Linked DNA regions of Homo sapiens: region 2 is linked to region 1. Evidence: promoter capture Hi-C in 16 types of primary human blood cells and fetal thymus (Javierre and others, 2016). All regions are on one chromosome and are shown on one strand. Each heading gives the region's core, a stretch centred on a gene start or on the middle of the fragment in contact. The rest is flanking DNA. Distances are from core to core; before and after follow the strand shown. Region 1 holds the start of TAT (tyrosine aminotransferase). Region 2 overlaps LINC02136 (long intergenic non-protein coding RNA 2136).

Region 1 (7,681 bases), core at 1-2,500:
GATTGCTAGACATTTAGTCCTGTTATAAGAGCACTAAAGATTTGGCAGTCACCAGGTATGGAGTCTCAGGAGGAGCTTACCGATGGATGGGGCATAGCCATTATATTTGCCCGAGTCCAGGGCATCTTTCATTGCCTGGGTAACTTCAGGGTCTGTAGGCAGGTTTCCAAACACAGTAGGGTCCCCTTTTTATGGGAGGAAAACACAAAAGGAGCCAAGAGGTTATTCTCCCATGTTCAGTACTCAGACTCACCCCCAACTGCCATCTTCTCCAACCAGCCTGTGAACATGAGAGTAGAGGAGGACAATGACAGCCCCTCAGTAGTGTCCCCAACTCACCAATGGACAGGGAAATCATGGTTTTGTTTGGATTTGGTTTCACCTTCATGTTGTCCACAATGGCTCGGATGGGGTTGAAAGTTTTCTTGGCCATGTCTGAGGGCCTCACAGACCACCTGGCCTTTCTGCCTTTCATTTTTCCCGGCACAGAGCTTCTCCCACCAACGTTGACATGCACGTCCAGAATTGAGGGGAGGTTGCCTTTGCTGCTCATCTGAATCATGTATGGGTCCATCACTAGCGAAGCCTGCGAGGGGAAAGAAGTTCCCTGTGATGTTGATAACATAGCGCTGGGGGACAGAGGAGCTACATTTGGACCTAAACATTGGGTGACTTCACTAAAAGTGTCTTTCCAAACTCTCTCTTTATTTTTTTTTCTACTTTCTGTTGTAAAGTAGCTTTACTATGAATGGGGGAGTTTTAAGAGTTTTTACTGAGATGGAAAATAAAGCAAGAACCCATTCTACTTAAGTAGGATTTGCTACACGCATCTGCAATTCCTGTCAAAGCTTAACCATGCTCTATGTGAAACCAAGAAGGAATAAGATGAAAATTGTTCATCAGTCAAAGCATAGGTTCTCCTTCCTTTCCATGCGAGCCTATCCAAGAAAATCTACCTAATGCTTCTTGTCATCTGCAGAGGACCAGGAAGAACCACTCCATCTTGTTAGAAGTTCCATGTAAATATCATTGTTAGTAAAAGTAAAACCTTATCCCATAAGCATGTTACAGCCCTAGCTGGAAAAAGAAATCAATACACCAAAAAGAAAAAAATTAACAGCTCAATCAGTCACCACTGCCTGATCAGCTTGGGCTTGAGATTTTTACCTTCCAAGTAAAGGAGAAAGCAGCCTCCAAGAAGCCAACCCCGAAAGCTCCCTTAGCTCTTCTTTGACAGGTTACAGGGGCAATGAACTCAGATGCAAATCCTAACTCCTGAAATAGTCTCCACAAATGGGCGTTGGGCTTGAAACTTTCATGCCATTGGTTGGAATGACAACTCAGCAGCCAGCTCTCCCCTCAGCTTCTTTCCTCCTCTCCCCCGTCATTGCCTCTCATCCCTAAGCCCACCTCCCACCCTCAAAGCAGGAATTTGTCCTCACTTCAAACATCTGGAATTCTCCTGTGTTAACTCTTTCTGGGCACTTGGTGAGATGGTTTGAGAACATCTACTGTCAGAAAGTACTTCTGGTTACAGTTGATAGCTTTTATTAAATTTTTTTTACAAAACAGCCTGTTAAAATTTTAACAGTACAGAAATATATAAAGTAAGAAGTGAGCATTCTTCCTTGCACCTGCTCCCTGTACACTTCATTCTCACTCCCAGGGGTAGAGGGTGGTAATGGTCAGGCTCTTTCCCTCCATTCAGAGATAGATACATTACATATAGGTGCATAGATACATAATTTCATAGATTTCAAAACACAGATAGGATCGTGCTCTACACCTTGTTTGGCAACATTTTTTTTTTAACTTCCTACATCTTGGACGCCCATCCTTGTCAGTCCACAAAGTTTTGCTCCAATCAGAACAAATTGGGCACTTAAGTTCCATTCAACAAATAGCTGAAAAGCACAGGGTGTCCAAGGCAGCTGAAACCTGTGCAGTTTTATCCTTGCACTGTGCATGAATTCTTCATTTACCTCCTATGGTTGTTGGAAGAATTTAAAATGTCAGGTGCGATCCACACAAAACAACTTTGCTAAGCAAAACACAAGGTCCACAGCCAAAATCTCAACATTCCTGTGAGCAGATGGAAAATACCACCCACTGAAGGGTTAAGAGAAGCCTCAGTGATCTCCCCAGGGCTCAGATCCTGTCTGTTTATTTGTTGGAAGACAAAGATTTTTCACATCAGTTTGTTCTTCTCCATTCACTTTTCAGGGAGTCAAGCCTCCAGTGGGGTTGAATACAGTAGTCCCCCCTTATCCACAGGGAGCACACTCCAAGACCTCCAGTGGATGCCTGAAATTATGGATGTCTGAAACCATGGGTAGTACTGAGCCCTAGGTACACTATGTTTTTTCTTATACAGTAATGGCAGGTAACGTCTATAGCATGGATACACTAGAAAAAATTATTCACGTCTTGGGCCAAGGGCATCCTTGTCATAAATGTTAGTTTACATATTTGATTATTTCCTTAAGACAGATTTCTATACAAGGACTGTGTTGCAAAGAATAAGCATTTCTCTTTTACATTTTTAGTAAATATGATATATCCTTATATAATAAATTCAAATAGAGATGTACGTGAATTAAACCCTGATCACCTTCCCTCCCTGCATTCTCATTTTATATAAAAAAATCATTTTTAGTCATTTCTTGTGTACCCTTCCAAATGTTTTCTATGTTTATTACAATACGTATAAAGCTGGTTTGGGAGTTGCTAAAAAAATGGAGAGTAAACGTGGTCTATAGTTGCACTGTCTAATATTGTAGCTACTAGTCATAAGTGGCCGTTGAATACTTGAAATGTGACTGGTCTGAATTAAGATGTGTTGTAAAATACACATCAGGTTTTGAAGACTTAGTATAAAAAAAGAATGTTAATATCTCATATAATTTTGTATGATTACATGTTTAAAGAATATTTTGGGGCTGGGCATGGTGGCTCACACCTTTGGTAATCCCAGCCTTTCGGGAGGCCAAGGTGGATGGATCACTTGAGCTAAGGAATTCAAGACCAGCTTGGGCAACATAGTGAAACCCCGTCTATACAAAAAGATACAAAAACTAGCCAGGCATGGTGGCATGAGCCTATAGTCCCAGCTACTTGGGAGGCTGAGGTAGGAAGATCACCTGAACCCAGGAGGTCAAGGCTGCAGAGAGCTGTGATCATGCCATTGCACTCCAGCCTGGGTGACAGAATGAGACCTTGCCTCAGAAAAAAAAAAAAAAAAAAATATATATATATATATATATATGTATATATATATATAAAATGTATTTTATTTTACTCAGTACACCGTATATATATAATAAAATATATAATAAAATATATGATAATAAAATACATGGTGTGCTGAGTAAAATAAAATACATTCTTAAAATTAATTTCACCTATTTGTTTTTATATCTTAAAATATTTCTATTAGGAAATTTGAAGTCACTATGTGGCTTGCATTCTGTCTATTGGACAGGGCTGTTCTGTAGCTTGCTTTTTTTAAAATCTTAATAATGTGTGGGCTGGGCGTGGCAGCTCATGCCTGTAACCCCAGCACTTTGGAGGCCAAGGCAGGCAGATCATCTGAGATCAGGAGTTCAAGACCAACCTGGCCAACATGGCAAAACCCCATCTCTACTAAAAATACAACAATTAGCCAGGCACAGTGGTGCACACCTGTAATCCCAGCAACTCAGGAGGCTGAGGCAGGAGAATCGCTTGAACCCAGGAGGTGGAGGTTGTGGTGAGCCGAGATCGTGCCACTGCACTCCAGTCTGGGCGACAGAGTGAGACTCCGTCTCAAAAAATAAAAAATAAAAATAAATAGCCTGGTGTGGTGGCTCACGCCTATAATCCCAGCACTTTGGGGTTGCTGAGGCAGGCGGATCACGAGGTCAGGAGATGGAGACCATCCTGGCTAACACCGTGAAACCCCATCTCCGCTAAAAATACAAAAGTTAGCCCAGCCTGGTGGCGGGTGCCTGTAGTCCCAGCTACTCGGGAGGCTGAGGGAGGAGAATGGCATGAATCCGGGAGGTGGAGCTTGCAGTGAACTGAGGTCGCGCCACTGCACTCCAGCCTGGGCGACAGAGCCAGACTCTGTCTCAATAAATAAATAAATAAAATAAAAAATAAAGCATATCGAATGTCCTTGTACATTCATGATTGATAGAGAACTTTTATGCATATCCTGTTATTTGAGGGATAGTTTCAATTACGGACTATACAAAGACGAAAGCAATGCAAATATGTTTAATTTGAACAACCTCTTGGAGTTCAGACTACCTGTCATGACAATATACTGTGCTTGAGAGATGACACAGGTACCTCACTGAGTGTTACTGTAGTGGTTCTCCAGGTGGACAGAGACTCAGAGGTGTTAAAAAAAATTATTCAATAACACTTGTTAAAGCATGGTAAGGCAGACTTTATTCAGGACCATTCCAATAGCTAGACGGCCCACTGCAATGGATTTTCCAGTGGGGAAGAGAAATTGGATTCAACTCCAAATATGGTGATGGCAAGTGTGGATTTATAGCCAAGGATGGAAAAAGTAAGAGGAATCATCAGGAGTAAGGGGGATTCTGCTAAACTGACCTAGAAGGCCAGTGTCAGTGTCATCCTGCTGAAGACAGGCCATGGTGACCAAACATTCCCTGGGGGACGGCAAAGAATGAGGAACCTGGTCAGATATGCAGGGTGGGAAATCTTGCCAAAATGACTCAGGGTTCTTTGCTAAAACTGGATCTTGCAAGGAAGTGCAGATGGGCTTAGAAGAAGATCCAGAAGCCTGACAAAAGTCTGGTCAATCAGAGAATCTTTGTCAGAGGTTGAGACCACTGGTCTTTAAAAGAGATCAAGTAAGAATCAGATTTTTCTCAATGTGAGAAGGCTACTATGACTGATTTCTGTCACTCAAGGTTCAGATTTTCTTTTCTTTTTTTTGAGACGGAGTCTCACCCTCCTCACCCAAGCTGGAGTGCAACGACGCTATCTCAGTTCACGGCAACCTCCGCCTCCCGGGTTCATGCCATTCTCCTGCCTCAGCCTCCCGAGTAGCTGGGACTACAGGCACACACTACCACATCCGGCTAATTTTTGTATTTTTAGTAGAGACGGGGTTTCACCATATTGGCCAGGCTGGTCTTGAACTCCTGACATCAAGTGATCCTCCCGCCTCGGCCTCCCAAAGTGCTGGGATTACAGGCGTGAGCCACTGCACCTGGCCTCAAGGTTCAGATTTTCAAGGAGACACGGATCCAACTCCCCCTCCCACATTTACACAGCCTGTAAGATTGGTGTCCTGTCTCCAACTGGACATTAAACCAGGAGACTTAGATTATTCCCTTATAGGTTGTGACCCCTGGGGTCTTCCCTTTTTATCTTGGGAGCTCAGGCATTTTGTTATATTTTATCAAGTATGTCTAAATATTTTTGTAATGGAAGATTTTCTAGGTTATCCTGTCCTCAATACAGCCAGAAAAGGAAATCTGTCTTCTTCCTTACTTAAAATGTCACTTTGTACTAAATTCCTGTATCTTCTTGACTCTCTTTCTGGCATATGCTATTCCAGAATGAACATTCTTACAGTTTTTTATACACACAGCCACATTGCTTTAAAAAAGGCCATTTACCTTTCTATCAGTAATTGTCTGCAAACCCTGGGAATTATTTTCTTAAAAAAATCTTTGCCAAACTGATTGATGGAGGAAAAATGGTATCCAAGTGCTGCTGTTATTTCTGTTAACTCTGTCCCCTCTATTTTAGCGAGGGTGGTCATGTTTCATGTTTCTTTGCTCTTCCCATTTTGTGAATTGTCTGTTCATGTCCCTCACCCGTCTGTCTACAAGGGGACTCATCTTTCTCGTAGGTAGGACTTTGGCCTAGGAAGCCACTGCAAAGCAACAAGACAGCTGCTTTGAGATCACTGGCCCAGTCTCCTCTGTGTCAACCTGACTGGCTGAGACTCAGGTTTACAGATCAAAAAACAGCAAGCAGCACAAAATTTTGGCGGGTTGTCCTGCAAATAGTGCCGCTGACGCAGAATCTGCAGGCCAAGGGGTGTGTGATGGGGACAAGAGCTGCTGTACCAGAAGGTCATCACCATGGACACACCCTCGCCTCGGCTTTGGCAGTTGACAACGAAACCTAAATCAGAAGGAAAAACAGACAAGGCAAACAAGTTTTGGTCATGCGCTCTTCTGTAGCTAATGTTTTCCCTCGGTAGAAAGCAGACAGAGAGGGCCAGGCGCGGTGGCTCACGCCTGTAATCCCAGCACGTTGGGAGGCCGAGGCGGGTGGATCACAAGGTCAGGAGATCGAGACCATCCTGGCTAACACGGTGAAACCCCGTCTCTACTAAAAATACAAAAAAAAAAAAAAAAATTAGCCTGGCATGGTGGCGGGCGCCTGTAGTCCCACCTGGAGGCCGAGGCAGGAGAATGGTGTGAACCCAGGAGGCGGAGCTTGCAGTGAGCCGAAAGTGCTCCGACAGAGCGAGACTCCGTCTCAAAAAAAAAAAAAAAATGCAGACAGAGAGAACGTGAGAGGACCCAAGTCTACTTAGGAAGCTTTCCTGATGCCAGATAAACTTTACAGGGAAGTCAGGACCCAGTAAAGTGTAGAAACACTCGTTTTTTGTTTGTTCGTTTGTTTTAAGACAAAGTTTCGTTCTTGTTGCCCAGACTGAAGTGCAATGGCACTATCTCAGCTCACTGCAACCTCCGCCTCCCATGTTCAAGCGTTTCTCTTGCCTCAGCCTCCCAAGTAGCTGGGATTACAGGTGTCCACCACCACTCTCGGCTAATTTTTTGTATTTTTAGTAGAGACAGGGGTTCACCATGTTGGCCAGGTTGGTCTCGAACTCCTGTCCTCAGGTGATCCACCCGCCTCAGCCTCTCAAAGTGCTAGGATTACTGGTGTGAGCCACCACACCTGGCCTTTTTTTTTCTTAAGTATAAAATTGTTGTTTGCCATTTTGTATTTAAAATTTTTTAATTGTGGTAAAAAAAAATACTTAACATTAAATTTACCATCTTAACTTTTTTTAAGAGGCAGGGCCTGGCTCTGTTGCCCAGGCTGGAGTGCAGTGGTGTGATCATAGCTCACTGCAGCCTCAAACTCCTGGGCTCAAGTGATCCTCATACCCCAGCCTTCAGAGCAGCTAGAACTACAGATACACACCACCACGCCCTGCCAATTTTTTATTTTATCGTAGAGACGGGATCTCGCTATGTTGTCCAGGCTGGTCTTGAGCTCCTGGCCTCAAGTGATCCTCCCACGTCAGCCTCCCAAAGTACTGGGATTACAGGCATAAGCCAGCATGCCCAGCCAACTTAAACATTTTTAAATGTACAGTTTAGTTTATTCACGTTGTTGTACAACAGATCTCCAGAACTGTTTCATCTTGTAAAACTGAAGCTCTACACCCATTAAGCACGAATTCCCCCTTCAATTTCCCCTTAGCCCTTCACAACTACCTTTCCACTTTCTGATAGAAAAGTATTTGTGAAATAGCGCCATCACCTAGAGATAACCACTGTGAACCATTTTGCCCACAATTAACATCTTGAAATTTCTACTTTTTTCTAGATATACAGAGTTTTGTATTCCGTGGTTTTCATTTTACAATATATTGTGAACATTTTCCTAAGACTATAAAAATTTTTGTAAACTT
Region 2 (7,681 bases), core at 2,240-4,739, 170 kb before region 1:
TACCCTAATTTTTGGTGCCATTTGCTATCACTCACTGCCCTCATCTTGCCTGCCTCACCCTCCCCAGCATCCAAAGCACAAGTCAGAAAGCAGTTGAATCTCAGGGTGAGAACAAAGTCTGACACATCCATTCATGATGAACCCAGAGGGCAAAACACTGTCCACCGTGGTTTAAAAGAGGCAGTCCTCTTCCCTTCCAGATGGAAAGAAGAGGTGTCACTGAGCCACAGCCGGGAGAACAAGGGAGGCCCAGGTACAGCCAACGCTCTCCTGAAAATTCAAGAGGAACCTCACACAAGCCTTCAGGACGCCGTCTACAGCAAGTCATGGTTCTGCAATGCAAACAAAGTCAGGAAGAAAGAGGGAGGTTTGAAAACAATGCGGCCTTCCAGGCCCGAGTGAGAGGATGGGTCAGCCGGGCAGGAGTGACCGTGTAAGTATCGCAGCAAAGGAGGCTGAGTGCTCCCTGCATCAAATCAATGCTCATCTGGATAATGAAAGTACACCCTCACAGGCCTCCAAGAAGGTCACTGGCAAAACGTCCCACTGGTGGACAGACACCTGATCAGCAAGGGGCAAGAGCAGAGGCTGCTTGAAGAATCTAAAGCAAACAAACAGAAAATCCAAGACCTGGATAAAAAGTGAGAAATACAAGAAAGGCCTGACACAATTCCAAGTTGCATTCTGAACAAGAACACCACAAACCCCTTTTCATGGCACAGGGTGTTAAAAGAGCTCTTGCCAGCCGGGCGCAGTGGCTCACGCCTGTAATCCCAGCACTTTGGGAGGCCGAGGCGGGCGGATCACGAGGTCAGGAGATCGAGACCATCCCGGCTAAAACGGTGAAACCCCGTCTCTACTAAAAATACAAAAAATTAGCCGGGCGTAGTGGCAGGCGCCTGTAGTCCCAGCTACTTGGGAGGCTGAGGCAGGAGAATGGCGTGAACCTGGGAGGCGGAGCTTGCAGTGAGCCGAGATCCCGCCACTGCACTCCAGCCTGGGCGACAGAGCGAGACTCCGTCTCAAAAAAAAAAACAAAAAAAAAAAACAAAAAAAAAAAGAGCTCTTGCCACAGAGTCACTTGAGACACATTTCTGGGCAAATACACAAAGGAAGAGAGACTCTTCAACCAACTGTGTCCCTCCAAACAGCCCTGAGAAGTAACAGTCATCAGAGACTTCCCAGAAGATACCCTCGACCACCAGAGTTCTGGCCCTACACCCACATGGGTGAGGTCTTCCTCCCACCACCAACAGCCAACCTGTGAGGTCTTTCTCTTTTTGCTGAAGGGGCCCAGTGTAGACTGGAGGCCTCAAGACTAGTTCCTAGGGCCATCTGAGGCCTCCAGTGCAGTACCTACCTCCTATTAGATACAGCTGAGGCCCCACCAATACATACAAGAGACCCTTCTCCTCTAAAGAGCTGGGCATCAGAGGCTGCCCATGGTTTCCATGATTTCCATGATCACACCATGACAAGGGAGACCACCACCCACCAGGAGGAATTCCTAAGCCTCTTCTTCTTCCCACTTAGGGTTCTTCTTAAACCTTCTTGAAAAAAACACAATCTGTGCTTTCCCTAAATAAGGACTTCCTTTTGCCTGAGCAGGTATATGCAGACAATAATCTGAGGTTTGAGATTAAAAAAAAAATCTTTTTGACCACTGTAAAAGACTGCCACCAAACTATTTCCTCCCACCACCAATCACGAGCCAAGCCACAAAGTCCTCATCCCTCACTGGGGAGCTCAACCTCAACTGGGGACTGCGCCTGCTGGGGAAGCCCCTCCACTTTGTCCCAGGGCTCACCTGGGGTCTCTCCTGACCTTGCATCTGTGCTTTGCTGCAACCTTCACTTCTGCAGGTAAGTACACAAAAGGTACCGTGTCAAAGTATCAAAGAGGAACCAACCCGGTTCCCAAAATGATGGCGAATCCAGTGTCAGCCCAATCAACAGCTCCTCAGCCTCCCTCCCTGGTTCTCCTGAGTTAGATTCAGGAGACTGGGGTCCCATCTGTGGAGGCTGGAGGCTGGACGTGCTTCAACATTGGCTATGCTGTCTGTATACATAGCAAATGAGAGGACTCAACACTGCTAGGATAATCTGCACCACAATCCTCTGTGCAGCGTGCCTGGCTTTAAGAGAGGTATCCTTGGAGGCGTGTTTGCAATTGACTCCAAATCTGAAACCCCAGCACTGTGACCACAACACTCACAGGAAACCAGAATATCTGAAACGGTGATGACTTTCCACACTGATTTGGTCTCATCATGCTGCAACCGACATTCTAGTATCATTATTTAGAGAGTCCGGGGATAATAGCCACCTCTGCAGAGAGCTTCTTCAATGCCTTGAAAACAGCCAGCAGCATTTCTACGGTGCACACACCTCGCCCAATTCTGGACATCTCCACCTATGTTACCTTTTTCTGTGGCACAACCATGCTATCGCAAGGTGCTAATTGGAATCTTAAGCACCGAGTTCACAGGACCAGCTGCACAAATGATGGCCCAGGTCTACATGATCAGAAAGGAGGCTCCAATGGCCATGCCCAACACCATTGAGACGTTTGTCCTAGAGCTCAACTCCATGCTGATTCTTGTAATAGAAAGATATTCCATGTGATACCTGGGGCCATCAACCAACTCAGGGCAAAACTAGAACCTGCTTCTCTACGCCAAGGCATAGAGGCGCTCCTTGTTGTACCAGCTGTGTTTCCAAAGCTTGCTTCTGGTGCTCTGTGTCATTCCTGGGACAACCTCAGCAAGGAGGAATTATTATGCTGCTAAACTTGTGACTGAAGGGCTGCTCCGAAGCAAGCTCTGGAGACATTCAGAAAGAAAGTTTCTCCAAAATCTGGAGGAACATTTCTCACTCCAGAGCAGCAACACTTCTGTGAATTGTATGGAATTCCTGGGGAGATTTTAGAGCAGGTGTATAAGAAGCCAAACAAGAGAAGAGCCGAACCATCCATAGAGGATGGTGCAACAAAGCAGCAGCCAAAATCAGTGTTGGAGACCCTCCTCACATCCGGGGTGCCAAAAGGAGGTGCCCACCCACTCCCCAGGATCTTTTAGGCCACCTCCTAAATAGTGGAGACTTCAAATGCATCCAACTCTTCCACCTCTGTCTCCTGCTGGTCCTTCTCCATAAGACCCTTCTCTGATCTTTCCTCTGAATGAGGAACTACTAATTCTGAGGCTTGTGGTTAAACAGAAATGTATTCACCACAAATGAAGATTATCTCAAGATCTTGCTCCCCACAAAATTAACTGTTTCATTTTAATTGTAGCTCATATTTTAATAGTAAAGGACTGAAAGGTTTATGTTGCACTTAATGCTCTCAAAAACCTTTAGGGTGTTTGTTTGTTTGTTTGTTTAGAGACAGGATCTCACTCTGTCACCCAGGCTGGAGTGCAGTGGCACAATTATAGCTCACTGCAACCTTGAACTCCTGGGCTCAAGTGATCCTCCCACCTCAGCTTCCTGCATAGCTGAGACTACAGGGGCATGCCACTGGGCTCTGCTGAATTTCGTTTCTTTTTTTTTTTCCTCTCTTTTTTTTTTTTTTTTTTTTGTAGAGACAGGGTCTCACTATGTTGTCCAGGCTGGAATCCTTAAGGTTTGCATAACGAGAAACACAGTAAGAACCAAGTTCCAGTTGATCAGGCTGCCCTACCAGATTAAGGAACTCGTACTTTATATCCAATGGGGCTGCAGTTTGGAAGCCCTGTAGTCGTCGACTTTCCCTTTAAGCAGTGCACAGAAATAGGAAGAGATCAATAAAGCCCAGAAGAGAAATCTTGCCAAACTTCAACACAGCAAATAACAACCACTTATCGAGGGCTCAACTCCACTAGGAACATCACAAAGCAGCAGTTCTCAGTTGGGGGCAATTTTGTCCCACTCTCACCTCCCCAAAGACATTGAGCAATGTCTGAAGACATTTTTTATTGGTGAAACGAGGTGGGGATGGGGTGGAGGGTGCTACTGGTATCTAGTGGGTAGAGCCAGAGATGCTGCTAATCACCCTGCAATGCACAAGTCAGTCCACAACAACAAGGAATGATTTGGCCCCACATGGCAAGATTCCCCAGGTTGGGAAACTCTGGTATAAAATAAAGGCACCTGAAACACGCCCCTGACCCCAACCCCAGGCATCCAGTCTTTATGTCATGATCCCTCTGAACATCTTAGTTAAGCTATTGCCTTTGCTCCTAAGGGAAAAAAAAATATTTATACATGCATACACAGAAACAAAGCTTTGCAATTTTGGGGGGCAAGGTGACAGAGCAGGGGCCTTGCCATTGTGGACAAGCACCTTATTTTAAAATTCATCTTAATCAAAAACCGCCTAAAGCCAAAAGGCATCAGCCTAATGGCTAAGGTCGGCATGACCAGAAACTACAAATAACATCTCCGACCAGAAACATTCCAAACTCCTCCCCAACCAGAGACATGCTAGCCCCAAGATAACCCCCCTCTGGCTGGGAAGATGCCAGCCCCAAGATAACTAACCTCCCTCCTGCCGGAAAGACGTCAGCCCCAAGATAACCTCCTCTCTGCCCAGAAACATTCCGACCCGGCTATAGACTTCTCCCTGACCCAAAAACATTCCAAGCTTGTGATAAGACCCTCACCCTAAAACCAATATATACTTTTAGTCTGTAACAGAAAGCGCCCCTGACCAAAATCGGCCAGAAGCCCCTCCAGGTTTTATCTAAAGTAAACCTGTCTTTAAAAATTTCATGTTTTTTTCCTCTTTCTTTAACTCTTACACAAGTGTTCATCAATCCCTGATGCCCATTCAGGAACACTCCTCAATCCCAGACACCCAAAGATACTGAAGTCAGGTTCTTTTCCTTTTTCTTTTTTTTTTGTCTCGCTCTGTCACTCAGGCTGGAGAGCGGTGGCGTGATCTCAGCTCACTGCAATCTCACCTCCTGGGTTCAAGCGATTCTCCTGCTTCAGCCTCCCGAGTAGCTGGGACTACAGGTCTCCATCTCCTGACCTCGTGATCCACCCGCCTTGGCCTCCCAAAGTGCTGGGATTACAGGTGTGAGCCATTGTGCCCAGCTGAGGTCAGGTACTCTTTTTAGCGAGTATTCCCATTTTAAAAAATCTTTTTAAATAAAAAGAACCTGGCTCCAAAAAAACCATTTGCATGTATGATACCTCATTGAAACCTCAGAGCCATCCAACCGGGTCAGGTCTACCCGAATTGCCATGGACAGAGAACAAGACTGGGGCACCGAGAGGTTTAGATGACTTTTCTGTGGTGACACAGCCAGTGAGTGGCAGAGACACAGGAATGCCACCCCACCCCTGCTCTGGCCACCACCGGCACTCCAGGTTCTGACACCCCATGCCGTGGAATCGCACGGTGGGATCCCAGCTGACCCAGGGTGCTCCGTCTCCACCCTGGCTTTCCATCTGGCCCACACAGGTGAAGTGCAAAGGCTGATCTCAGAGAAACCATCAGAGGTACTATCACACTGCCTCATCAGTGACAGTCACTCTCCTGGCCAGGTGCATGGGCGTGGATGTGGATCACATCAGGTGTGGAACAGAGGCAGCGCACTCCTCGAGCCCCAGGTGTTTGTGGGAAGCCAACCATACCCTGAATCTCTCCTAGGTACAGGTAGGCCCAGGTGCAGCTCTGACAGGCTCGCCACTCCCGGGCAGGAAACCTCCCAGCCTCAGTCAGCTCCTCTTAATCAGCCCCTCTTCATCTCCAACCAGGATCACCAGTCTGCCAGGCCCCTTCCTGTGCTCCTCAGGAGGCCAGCAGTCTGCCAATATCTGGAACTTAATGAAATGAGAGTAAAAGTGAATCCCTGAGGTTGCCTTATTTTTCCTCCATTGAACCTCTTTCCAGTTCCCTCAGTCTCTCTCTGCCTTTGTTTTATAGTAAGAGGCTACATTTGGACCAGGTGAGCTACTGGTCACGCAGGAGTCGATCTTGCTGTCCTCCTCTGGCTGGACACTATGGCCTGGAACTGACTTCCAGCTCAGGAGTTTGAGCCCAGGAAGCTTATCCTCTGTTTTCACATGCTAGTAGTCACCCTTTTGGTCTGATTGCTGTTGAAAACCACGCAATACAACACCTGCAACTCTGTCGGAAGCCTGTGACAATCAAACTGCATTCACCCAGACTGTGTTCAGAGGCGCATATGTCTTAGAGTTTGCAAATGCATATATTCAAGTCTAAAATCTGTGTTTCAGAAAGCAACAGCCAACCAGATTTAGCAAGTCCCACCCATTTGCCGTAGGTACACCAGACCAATTTTTTAAATGAGTAAAACATTTTTTTTTTTTTTGAGACTGAGTCTCACTCCATCGCCCAGGCTGGAATGCAGTGGCACGATCTCAGCTCACTGCAACCTCTGCCTCCTGGGTTCAAGCGATTCTCGTACCTCAGCCTCCCAAGTAGCTAGAATTACAGCATGTGCCGCCATGCCCAGCTAATTTTTGTAGTTTTAGTAGAGATGGGGTTTCACTATGTTGGCTAGGCTGGTTTCAAACTCCTGACCTCGGCCTCCCAAAGTGCTGGGATTACAGGCATGAGCCACCATGTCCAGCCAAAACATTATTTTAAAGCTAAGCTCCCCACCCTCTTGCTATTCCTTTGGTTCCCCTCTCTCCCCGGGACAAACCCCATTCAACTCTAACATGCATCCCATCTCTGGATATTTCTCACTGTTACAAGGCAGTCATGTAGCCAGGACCACCGTGTCCTGATGTCTAGTGTGTTTGACAACTAACAGAAAAGGGATTTGGCGTTTTTATTTTATTTTGAGACTGAATCTCACTCTATCACCCAGGCGCAATCTTGGCTCACTGCAACCTCCACCTCCCAGAGGCTCAAGTGATTCTCCTGCCTCAGCCTCCCAAGTAGCTGGGATTCTAGGCATGCACCACCACATCCAGCTAATTTTTTGTATTTTTAGTAGAGAAGGAGTTTCACTGTGTTGGCCAGGCTGATCTCGAACTCCTGACCTCAAGTGATCCTCCCACCTCGGCCTCCCAAAGTGCTGGGATTACAGGCATGAACCATGGCGCCCGGCTGGAAAAGAGATCATCCTGTCCACAGCTGGGCCCTATTCGGGATCATCTCTTAGGAGGGCCCTAGCTCCTTTCCTGGACTGTATCTTGTCCCCATGATTGAACAAGGGTGGCTTTCAGGAAGAGGATGGGGAAAGTCCAGCCCAGAACCAGGCCCTACAGCAGAAGGCAAAAAAAAAAAAAAAAAAAAAAAAAAAAAGGTGATTCCCTTGACTCTGGCCCCCTAAGGGCAATGTGAGCCCCCCAAAACCATGAGTCCAACTCCCTGTTGTCTGGGGAGCAGCACCACAGCCCAGGATGGCTTGGGGGATGCATTGGATGAGGGAGAAGCAGGCCCACAAAGGGGAGATGAATGTGTCAAGATCACACAGCCAGGCAGGGCACAGTAGGGACTAGACCTGTGCTCAAGGTACTGGGCCATTTTGCATTTCTGAATGGGCAGCAGCATCAGAACCTTCATACTCCTCATACCACTGACGGCAGGCTCTGTGCATGGGGATATCCTTGACCCTGCACCTGGCACAGAGGGAAGCCAGCCAGCTGCGGACAGTCACGCCCTGGGGCTCTGAGCTGCTCCACTGCACCTGGGGCATCCTGCACCGGGGTGGACAGTTCCC

Evidence for each region. Contacts are between HindIII fragments. The CHiCAGO score rates a contact against its expected background, and 5 or more counts as called.
Region 2: a contact is called between a fragment that was not itself captured here and the fragment with the promoter of TAT in region 1, in 2 of 17 cell types (naive B cells and total B cells). The highest score is 6.1, in naive B cells.

What each region holds. Positions count from the first base shown.
Region 1 is chr16:71,575,842-71,583,522 of GRCh38, forward strand. TAT (tyrosine aminotransferase) reads right to left here and starts at 1,251. Exons shown (of 12, transcript NM_000353.3): 1 at 1,168-1,251; 2 at 340-586; 3 at 81-185. The coding sequence starts at 574. The HindIII fragment of the contact is 5,727 bases long and covers 847-6,573 here.
Region 2 is chr16:71,404,728-71,412,408 of GRCh38, forward strand. It overlaps LINC02136 (long intergenic non-protein coding RNA 2136), which reads right to left. Exons shown (of 3, transcript NR_146574.1): 3 at 5,714-5,807. Among named protein-coding and RNA genes, the nearest start is that of LINC02136, 18 kb to the right of the region's middle. RefSeq lists an enhancer at 7,295-7,681. The HindIII fragment of the contact is 1,539 bases long and covers 2,721-4,259 here.